3 separate regions of the Homo sapiens genome follow, and regions 1 and 2 are each linked to region 3. Evidence: promoter capture Hi-C in 16 types of primary human blood cells and fetal thymus (Javierre and others, 2016). All regions are on one chromosome and are shown on one strand. The core of a region is centred on a gene start or on the middle of the fragment in contact, and the rest is flanking DNA. Distances in the headings are between cores, read along the strand shown.

Region 1 (3,792 bases), core at 1,293-3,792, 570 kb before region 3:
AAAAGAAAGGCTTGCAACAAAAGCTACTGCTTCTCAGAATTTTAAGTTAACTCATTTTCTTTAGAACCTTCCATATGCCATTATCATATTGTGCATTATGCTGCAGTGATTCATTTTTATGTCTATCTTCCACAACTCTACTGCTGTAAAGTTCCTTGGGAGCAGAAATTCAGTTTTATCTACCGAGTGCAGAGAAAACAGTGAGAGTAATGGCAGGTGCATAGTGTATGGTCAGTAAATGCCCTTTGAATTGAACTCAGCTGTACTCTGCTGAGCACTTCTCTAGTGTTTATAAAACCCTTTCTGATATCCAATCTTATTTAAGCCTCATAAAAACTCTAGAAAATGATGACTATCCTCAACAACTCTTAACTGAACTTACTTTCTAAATATACCTTGACTCAGATCACTTCTCATCCTTTCATCTATGCAAACATCATTTCTACCCTGGACCATGTAATATTCTGGGACTTATCTCTCAGCACCACTCTTGTCCCTTGTGGTCCATTCTGCAGAATGCCTAGAATTTTCCTTTTAAAATGTAAAACACGTTACATTCACATAATTCCTCAGCTAACACCTTCCCATCTTCCAATGGCTTCTTATCATATTTATAACAAAACTCAAAGTACTTATCATGGCTTGCAAGGCCCTACCACAGTGTTGTTTCAAATTTTATCATAACCCATAGTAAGAAGGGTGTTTTACATTGCAACCCAGCATGCGTGTACAAGTGCACGTGCGTGCACACACACACGTACACACACACAAAAGAAAAACCATACACTGATATTTTCTATCTCATTTTACTCTTCTTAGTTACACTAAAAGGTGCTAGTGATGACACCAATTTGTTTTCATGACTGCAGTTTGGAAAACATGGCTCTACTTAGTCTGGCTCCTGCCTACTTTTCTGATATCACCTTTAGGCTTCCCTTTTCCACTCTGCACCAGTATATGGCATCCTTGCGGTTTCCTTACCACACCAAGCAAGCTCCCCCTTTAGGGTCTTTGCATTGTATTTCCTTCTGCCTGGGACATTCTTCCTCCAGATATTCACATTGCTCCCTCCTTTACTTCATTCAAATCTCTGCTCAAATGTTACCTTCTCAAAGAAGCCTTTTATGACCATCCTTTCTAAAATAGTACTCTTCGGCCGCCCCCTTGCCCGTCATGTAACACACATTCGTGTGTAACCTGGCACTAAAACATAAGTAGATGACCTGCTTCTGGGTCAGGGTTTCATATGTAGCAGAGGGGATCCTTGCTGTGATCTATTGAAAGTCAGCCCTTGGTACAAGTGTTTGTAAAAATAATACTAATAATAGTTTAAAAAGTAAAACAAAAACAAAAAGAAAAAAACTAAAAAGAAAAAATAGAATAGTACTCTGTTACACTCTAGCCTCTTAATCTTTTTTCTCTATGTGTCACTGTTTGACATTATATATCTCTTTTTATTATCTGTCTCATCAACTAGAATTTAAGATGCGTAAAAAGAGAGACAGTGACTCTTTGGGGCACTGCTGTATCCCAACTACCTAGAACACTGTCTGGCCCTTAGTAGTCATATAATCAATATTTGCTGAATGAATGTATCTGTGTTTAGAATTGAAGACACTAAAGCTCAGGATGTTAATGGATGTTAAGCACATTGCCCATGATTGTGTGGCTAATATGTGTATATCAAAAGCTGGAATCTACTTTTTAAAAATTATTTGAGTAATGTCAGACATGTCATAATTTATTTCATCTCTTTACCTGACCAATTTTTCCGAGTTAATATATCGTAGATTTTTGAATGCAAATAATTGTTCTTCATCAATGGTTCATACTTGTTGGATATCTACTATGTACTATATACTGTGCTTCCATTTCTTCTAGATTTTCAATTGTATATCTAGAAAACCCCATTGTCTCAGCCCAAAATCTCAAAATAATAACAGCTATTTATGACAAACCCATAGCAAATATCATACTGAATGGGCAGAAGCTGGAAACATTCCCTTTGAAAACCAGCACAAGACAAGGATGCCCTCTCTCACCACTCCTATTCAACATAGTATTGGAAGTTCTGGCCAGGGCAGTCAGGCAAGAGAAAGAAATAAAGCGTATTCAAATAGGAAGACAGGAAGTCAAATTGTCCCTGTTTGCAGATGACATGATTGCATATTTAGAAAACCCCATCATCTCAGTCCAAAATCTCCTTAAGCTGATAAGCAACTTCAGCAAAGTCTCAGGATACAAAATCAATGTACAAAAATCACAAGCATTCTTATACACGAATAACAGACAAATAGAGAGCAGTGGTTTGTAGTTCTCCTTGAAGAGGTCCTTCACATCCCTTGTAAGTTGGATTCCTAGGTCTTTTATTCTCAATTCTTTGTCCCATGGTCTAGTGAGAAGATAAATAAGTAAATGTTGATGATACGTATTCCAAATTTTAAGCTTATTGTACATTGGAAACACATAAAAATAACCCAGTAATGTGGGTTACAGAAGGCTGCTTGGAGTGATTAATTTTCAAACAGGAACATGAAGGGCTAAAAAAGAAATTATCCAAGTGAAGAAAGGCAAGCAGAAGAAAGGGTATATGCAAAAATCCCAGGGTCAAGAGAGGGTGGAGAGAATTGCAAAGCTTTAAGCTTTCTGAGTGACTTAATGGAGAAGGGTGAGAAATTATTTTGGGCTGGTAAGCAGGGACCAGATAAGGAAGGAGTTCCCAAGCATTGTCATGTACCATGCATGCTATCCTAGGGTGAAGGGAAGCCATTCACTAGGAAGTGGGGCAATAGCATTAGCAGATTTGAAGTTTCAAAGGGCCACTGTCTGCAGTGTGGGACTGGAGTTGAGAAAAGGGAGCTAGAAGGCAGGAGGATAGATCTGTAGTAATCTAAATCACTGTAGACATGGGCAGAATATTCAAGAGATGTTTAGAAGCTAATAATTGACATGAATTGTAAATAATTAAATTTGGAATTTAAGGGAGGTGGAATTCAAAGATGAGTAATATCATATGGTAGAGGGTTAATAAATATGTGTTAAATGAACGAATGAAGAAAGAAAGATTCCTGACCAAGGCACTGGGTGATTGGTGGTGCAATTACTGAAACTTTTCAGTTAAAGAACCATAGAAAATTTTAATTTCCAAGGAGCAGGAAAGAGAAATTTCATTTTCAAGACATGATTACACTTTTTGATGGTGTAGAGCTAATAAATAAATCTGAGAAAACTACAGAACAGAATGAAAAATAGAGAAAACTGAATTCAACTTCTTTGCCAAACCACTGGAGCATTATGTAATTAAGCTTTCTAATTACACTCAGTTCAGATCATAATTAAAATTTGCATTACTAGCTTTCAAAGGTTCCTCTGGTCACCTAATGCTATGATGTCTCTAAGCAACATTAGTGCTTTCCATTTATAACACATTATAATTCCATGCTTTTCGCATTGCAAGTACTTAAGAAAGTTTTGTTGAATTACCTGGTATGATATTTGTTGAACATTTGGAACTAGTTTCTCTTGAATAAAGCAGTAGATGAAAATCTTTCATTGCAAACTGAGTGACTTGCTCAAGGTCACTCATCTTACTAGTGCCAGAGTCAATGGTGCTTCAGTGCTCTTTCCATTGTTCCTTTCAGAAAACCTGTGACGCATTATGAGGCTCAGAGATTCTCCCTGCTCACTTTAGTCTACGGACTGCATTTGATTATGAGACACAAATCTTGTGTCCACTTTGATTACAATTCACAAATTTCTTTGTCCTGTTCTTTAAAATCATAGTATATGATA
Region 2 (3,730 bases), core at 187-2,686, 520 kb before region 3:
GAAGGATATTAGTCTTGGATAGAGGCCACAGAGCTTGGGTCTAGGTTTTTCTTTTTCACATGGGGACAGAAGGTGAGGCCTCCAGTATTAGGCAGGCAGAAAACTACAAGTAATTTAACTGAGAGCTTGGAACATTAACTGTTTTTATGAAGAAGAGACTACAAAATCTCCAATCATGGGCCTGGGGAAGTATCAGAATTGAATTAGCTCATCAGAGTATTAGTAAGCTACAAAACAGGTCTGAGAAAAGTTACCTAGAATGCCTCAAAAATGATAATTATAGAAATTTAATATGGAAAAAAGAAGTTAACAAAGACAGAGGATAGATTAACAAGGTCAAACATAGCTTAATAAGGGTTCTGGAAAGAGAAAATTGAGAAGGTGGGAAGATGAAATAGACAAAAAGATGATGAAAAAAATATTCCAGAATTGTAAAGATGTAAGTTGTTAGATCAAATCATCAAACAAAGTTTGAAAGTTAAATAAAGGAAAAGACATATCAGGAAGTTACTAATCAAAGGAAGATGGTAGGACAATATTAATATCAGAAAAAATAGAGTTTCAGGTAAAAAGCATTATTACAATGAAAAATAGGCACTAATTAATGATAAAAGGATCAATTCTTCAGGGAGATATGAACAACTCCAAACTTCTATTCACCTAGTAGTAGAGCCTCAAATTGTTCAATATAAAATATGACAAAATTATAAAAAGAAACTGATAAACTCAGAATACTGATAGGAAATTTTAAAGTATCTTTCTCAAAAATTATTGATATAGCTGATAAAAATGAGAAGAAATACAGAAGCTTTGAATAGCCTGATTAACAGACTTGATCTCTTGGTCATATATAGAATCCCAATCCAGTAATAAGGGAATAGTTTTAATAGACCAAATAATTAATATCATCCAGATGAACTTCTCTGACCACAATACAATATTTCCTAAGAAAATTGTTAGAAACTAGCTGAGTGCCATGGCTTATGCCTGTAACCCCAGCACTTTGGGAGGCCGAGGTGGGTGGATCATTTGAGGTCAAGAGCTCAAGAGCTGCCTGGCCAACATGGTAAAACCCCTGTCTCCACAAGAAAAAAAAAAATTATCCAGTCATGATGGCATGCATCTGTAATCCAAGCTACTCAGGAGGCTGAGGCAGGAGAATCGCTTCAACTTGGGAGGCAGAGGTTGCAGTGAGCCAAGATTGCATCACTGCACTCTCCAGCGTGGGCAACAGAGTGAGACTCTGTCAAAAAATAAAACATAAAAAAAAATAAGAAAAGAAAAAGTTAGAAACCAATTTGGAGAGGGAAAAAGAATATATGTTTCAAAACTAAAAACCATATATCTCACTGACTGATAATTAAAGTAAAATATTATCTATCTGTCTACCTACCTCCCTACCTATTTACCTACCTACCTATCCATCCATCCACCCTCAATACTTGTGGGGTAAAGTTATAAATGATTTAAACATATATCTTATTGATAATTAAACAAAGTAAAATATTATCTATCTATCTATCTATCTATCTATCTATCTATCTATCTATATCTATCATCTATCTATTATCTATCTCTCTATCTATCTATCTATCATCTATCTATCTATCTATCATCTACCTACCTACCTACCTACCTATTTACCTACCTACCTATCTATCCATCCATCTACCTTCAATGCTTGTGGGGTAAAGTTATAAAGGAATTTAAAGAAAAATGAATAACTCTAAACAGAAATGATCAAAATTTAGCCAGAACAGTTAACTTTCTATAATTTCATGGCTAGGCCACGAGCGGTCCCCCACCCTCCACCCTACTGCAGAGCTCTCCCTTGGCCTGTCATGAGGGTAAGAATGTGACACTGAAATGGCCCATTAAGATGACCTCTATTGGGAAGTTCTATCAGTTTATCAAAATCTCTGAAATATACCGTAGATCTCAGAACATATATGCATCAGCAACATCCTCAGAAATGAATGTATCCATCTGCAAATTCATAGTGATAACTTTTTTCTTTTTCTACTACATTTAAAGTGTGACCCCTTGCCTCAAAATATAAGCTTCCCAGTGTGAAATGCTAATTTATCATCATGGATTGGCAGTAATTCAGAATTCCAATACATAGTGGTTCCAAAAACTACATTCAGAAAGAAGAGTAACCTTTTAAGATAATGACCCTATATTTTTCTTTAAATCTCCTGTCACTCTCCATTATATAGAAAAATTCAAACCACAATTCCACTCAGTGAAACTTACCAAAAAAATACTTTCCAAGGAAGTAATTTTTCAATCTCATTTATAAGTAGTATTTTTTAATATTTATTTTGCCATAGCTTCTGAAAGTACGTTATCTTTTTGTCTGATAATTGATGAATGGATAGGAAACATATTAAGGTAAATTAAAGCCAACTTAACAACCAACTGAGGATCCTAGCACACCATGGAGGAAGGGTTGTCCAAATCACACAGCCTGAAACTGGGACTGAGAACACTAGAGGAGCTACTCCTACTTTGATCATTTTATGAGAAGATGCACATTGATATAATTAGGTTTTAGCATAATTGCTTCTTTATAAATCATATTCTTTTTTCCTCATTTAGGCTACAGTCTTCCTTATTCATGTGAACATACTTCACGTCACCCCTCTTCTCAAAAACCTCCATGGATTTCTATCTCAGAGTAAAAGTCAAAGGCTGAAAATCAGCCTGTCAATCCCCTATGTCACCTGGCTCTTATGGCCTCTCTCAGCTCATCTGAATCCTCAGCGTCTGGAACAGAGCCTGGCAGATAGAAGGCACTCTCTCAACATTCAATGATTGAAAGAATAAAACATGGAGGTCTATTTACTTCTACTTTTTTTACCCTAGTTTCATCCTTTTCTTGTTAGTGAAAACTAACAGGCTCCTAATGCTCTGTCCATCTCCTCACAGCCCCTCTCCTTCCAGCCCTCTAATGCAAATCTATCTATTTAATAATAATCAAAGATGACATTATTGAGCCTATTCTGTACCAGGGAAATGTTCAATCACTTCTTATGTGCTTTTGAGGTAGATACTACTAGTATTTAAATTGTTTACATTAGGGAATCAAAGCTCACAGAGATGAAGCTAACTTGCACACAGTCACAAAGCTCATAAATGATGGAGCAAACTTGTGTTTCTTTGACTTTGGAGCCAGCATATGTCACCCTCAGTGTGATCCTGTCCCACAGTAGGAGGCTACTGAGCCCTCTCTGGTAGTTACGACCTCCAGATTTTCCTTACCTCTTTATCCTGGACTCATACTCTATCTTCTGTTTGGTCATTTCCTGTTTCAGGCTGGAAACTAAACTGTGCAGTGCACTGTGGTTGCTGCTGCTGTTGCCCACAAATGTCTCACTGTTGTCACTGCTACTGGTGGCACGACTACTTCGACCTCCCACACTCCTGTGGTCACTTTTGCTTTCATAGTCCCTGGGGTGGGAAAGGTCGTCCTGCGGGGGCCCATCCAAAACAGGGTCCTCAAAGTTCCCCCCAAAAAAGTCTTGCTCTGGGCAGGTGGTGGTAGAAGAGCGACAGGAGTTGGAGTTCTCAGGGAGGGAGATTTCACAGGAGGAAGTGGACCAGGTAGCACTGTCAATGCTCTGCTTGTCATCAAGGTTCATCATGGAGAACTGTTGATGGACATTATCATAGGTGGACAGTCTGTTGTGCTGGCCTAACTCTCCAGCTTGTTCTTTCTGCTTGTTAT
Region 3 (3,488 bases), core at 466-2,965:
GAAGAATTAAGAAATTTAAAAGGGGGAGTGAGATCTTCACAAGTCTGATGTGACTTTATGGCTGTTTTCTGGCTTTTTCTAATACATACATTCTGTGTGTTTTATTTTACAATGCCCAGTTCAATAGCGTCATCCATTTTTGCCCTGAAGGATTGGTTTTGAGTTCTAATTGGAACTGGGGACAGATTGTTTGTATTTAATCCGTCTGTACATCTTCTACTCAGTAACTGAGTAAAGCTCTTAAACTCTACTGCAAATATCCCTGGATTCCAATGAATTTGTCTTACTTAGTAGACATAGCAACACATATTGTTTTATTTATGTATTTATGTATAAGCAAAGCCTTAACAACTTTTATATTCCAAATACTCAGCACGATTTATTTATTTCCTTTTTAGAAAGAGATGAAACAATGATGCCGTGGAAGGTTAAAAAAAGAGTAACATAAAATGTGCTGGAAACAGAAATTACTTGGAGAAATTACTTGTTTAATTCAAATGAATTAAACGAGATATAGTCTACAAAGAAGTCTGGGCTCCCTATTACTGGTTGATGCTGAAAATCTATCTAAGGAATTCAGAGTAACATTGTCTCCCTTCTATTTGGGTACGTATAAAATAAATGTAGTCTTAAGTATTTTCTAAAAACGAGACCATATTACATGTTTATCATTAAATGTTATTTTTAAAAACATTTGGACAAAATCTTTTGAGTGGCTTCAAATTCACCAAAGATTCCCTAACGTTTTGTGTTTACAAATATATGTATATATTTTATAATATATATTTCTAATATGTAATATATTTATAAATATTTTAAAACATATTTTATACATATAAAATATATATTTTTGCAAATATATATGCTTATTATTAAAACCTATCTTTGTGCGCCTGTTACATAGGGAACTCCTATAAGATACTAGAGGAAACAAACAAGGGGAAGGGGAGGATGGATACCAAGAGAGGAAATTGAATTGTACAAAGGGTTTTTATTAATTCCATCTATTTTTAAAGCCAGAAAGACATACTACCAGCTTGCTGTCTCCCGGCACAAACATGCGCGCGCGCGCACACACACACACAAACACAGACAGGCTACATCAGCACGGGATTCCTGCGATCCCTCCCCGCCCCCCGCAGCCCCCTCCCCGCCCCCCGCAGCCCCCTCCCCGCCCCCCGCAGCCCCCTCCCCGCCCCCCGCAGCCCCCTCCCCGCCCCCCGCAGCCCCCTCCCCTGGCGCAGGCAGCCGCGTCCGTCCTTCCCGCGGTAGCTCCGCGCACTTCCTCGCGACCGCATCACCTACCTTGCTGGGAGCTCAAGACAGATGCCGGACAGGGCTGCTGCTCCGAAGGAAAAGGCTCCCAGGACCAGCAGTAAGAAAACGCAAAGAAAAAAAGGTGGTAGTGAGGCTCCTTTACTTTCCACAACAAGGGGAAGTGTTGAACTCTATGCACTGGGCTGCTCCGCAGCGCGGGTTTCGGAGGAAATAGGCGGCCGAGAGAGCTGCGCCTGCGATGGGAAGTTGGGGGGATTCCCCCAGCCACCCAGCCACCCCCGCCAGGCTCCTCTCTGGTCCCCGCCGCAGCCTTGACAGCTCCCCTGGTCTCCGAGCCCCTCCAGAGCCCTGCTGGTTTCCACCCGGAGCTGGGCTGTGTTGCCACATGCACTTGAGAAATCCTAGCAGTTGCGCAAAGAGTCCCAGAAGTTAGAAAGGGTGATTGTGTGTGAATGTGTAAATATACAGTACAAGAGGCTGGAACAACTGAGTGGGGCCAACCCTCAGACACAGCTCGAGGTTTCAGATTTCATTTGGCAACTGGTAGCTTCACAGGACTCGAGCCGCACTACAGGGGAGGCCGGCAGGAGCCCCGCCCTCCCAAAGCCTGGGTTATCTGAGAGCTGGAGCTACACCGCCTGGCGCCACTGACAGAATGCGCCCTGCCTGGTTCCTCCGCATCTGGCATCGCTCGTTCCTTTCAAGTGCATCATAGATACTTGTTGGCCACAGATCTGGGGCTGTGGGCGCGAGAAGGTTGGTGAATACATGTCTCCTGCCCTCAAGGAGCTCTGCATTTCATTGGCCAAACCCCATACACCGGTTTTACTTGCTTCTACCAACTCTGTCTCGCTAACATTTTATTTCTCCAATTAGAATTACCTGGGCCATTAAAGCAATATTCCTGGAAATGCACATTTAGATGGATGCTCTCTAACTAGAGCCTTAGAGAAATTCAAAGTATAATTACTTTCTTACGGTGGTGTAAGAACTCTCGGAGTTACACAATATGGGACAAAAGGACAAACTAGTAAACATTGTTTTGATGCAGGCCGTCTCTTCCCACCATCACCACAATGTCTGTTTCAAATTGTGATCTTACAGTTCTGGTTACCTGGCATGCTGAGTCAAATTATTTCAAAAAGCTTTGTAAAGATCTCTGTTTTAGAAACCCACTTACAGTGGATCAGTCATGCAATCCTAGCACTTTGGAAGGCTGAGGCAGGAGGATCGCTTGAGCCCAGGGGTTTCAGACCAAAATTGGCAACATAATGAGACTCCTGTCTCTATAAAAAAAAAATTAAAAAAATAAAAAAAAAGTTGGGCGTGGCGGCGTATGTCTGTAGTCCCAGCTACTCAGGAGGCTGAAGCGGGAAAATCCCTTGAGCCCAGGAGGTCAAGGCTGCAGTGAGCTATAATTGTGCCAGCGCACTCCAGCCTAGGTGACGGAGTGACACCCCCGTCTCGAACAATTACTACTGCTACTACTAATAAAAGAAACTCTCTTTTAGAAATCATCACCAGATATCCTTAAGACACAGAATGGGGGTGTCCTCACTAGGGATCTCCAGTGAGAGAGGGATATGGAAGAAGAGCAAATGTTTAGTTTTAGAAACACCAAAAATAAAAGGCTGAGTGGACACTGATATGTTTTTCCTTTTTGTCCTCTTTCTCCAAGTTCTTGGAGAAACGAATCTACCCCATCCCATGCTGAGGTCCTACTATAAACTTGATTTTCTGGTGGGAGAATTCTCAGCCCTTTAATGAATCAAATTAATTTGTGTGGGGAAAAAATTGCGTTTCATATTTCATTTTAAAAATATGTATGGAATTCCTAAGCTAGAAGTAATGTAGCTTATTTTCCAATTGGTGGGAATAAATTACCTTCATCAACCCACATGGCCTTACATGTTCTAGCAACACCCTAGCAGGTGAATGCTGATGGGCAGTTTCAGATGAAAGCTGGAAAATAACATTAACCCAAATGAAATTTGCACACATTTGATGGACTCAAAAGCCTCAGGAAGACAAGTACCAATAATTATGATTCAAGATGGGGACATTTAAAAAAACAAGGAAACTGTCATGTCAGTAATTTATTTCAGGGTCTAACAAATATTACCACAGCAGTTTAGTCTCAAAGTGATACAAAACTGAACTCAGGGTGGTTACTGGGTAGTCCCTAGTCCAAAAGATTAAGACACACCTCT

Evidence for each region. Contacts are between HindIII fragments. The CHiCAGO score rates a contact against its expected background, and 5 or more counts as called.
Region 1: a contact is called between a fragment that was not itself captured here and the fragment with the promoter of ARHGAP24 in region 3, in 1 of 17 cell types (endothelial precursors). The highest score is 7.2, in endothelial precursors.
Region 2: a fragment that was not itself captured here is called in contact with the fragment with the promoter of ARHGAP24 in region 3 in 1 of 17 cell types (total B cells); the score reaches 7.5 in total B cells.

What each region holds. Positions count from the first base shown.
Region 1 is chr4:86,044,605-86,048,396 of GRCh38, reverse strand. The region is part of intron 11 of MAPK10 (mitogen-activated protein kinase 10); the gene reads left to right. Among named protein-coding and RNA genes, the nearest start is that of MAPK10-AS1, 73 kb to the left of the region's middle. The HindIII fragment of the contact is 190 bases long and covers 2,448-2,637 here.
Region 2 is chr4:85,995,192-85,998,921 of GRCh38, reverse strand. It overlaps ARHGAP24 (Rho GTPase activating protein 24), which reads right to left. Exons shown (of 10, transcript NM_001025616.3): 9 at 3,265-3,730. Among named protein-coding and RNA genes, the nearest start is that of MAPK10-AS1, 120 kb to the left of the region's middle. The HindIII fragment of the contact is 1,252 bases long and covers 811-2,062 here.
Region 3 is chr4:85,473,377-85,476,864 of GRCh38, reverse strand. ARHGAP24 (Rho GTPase activating protein 24) reads right to left here and starts at 1,715. Exons shown (of 10, transcript NM_001025616.3): 1 at 1,306-1,715. The HindIII fragment of the contact is 5,990 bases long and covers 1-2,425 here.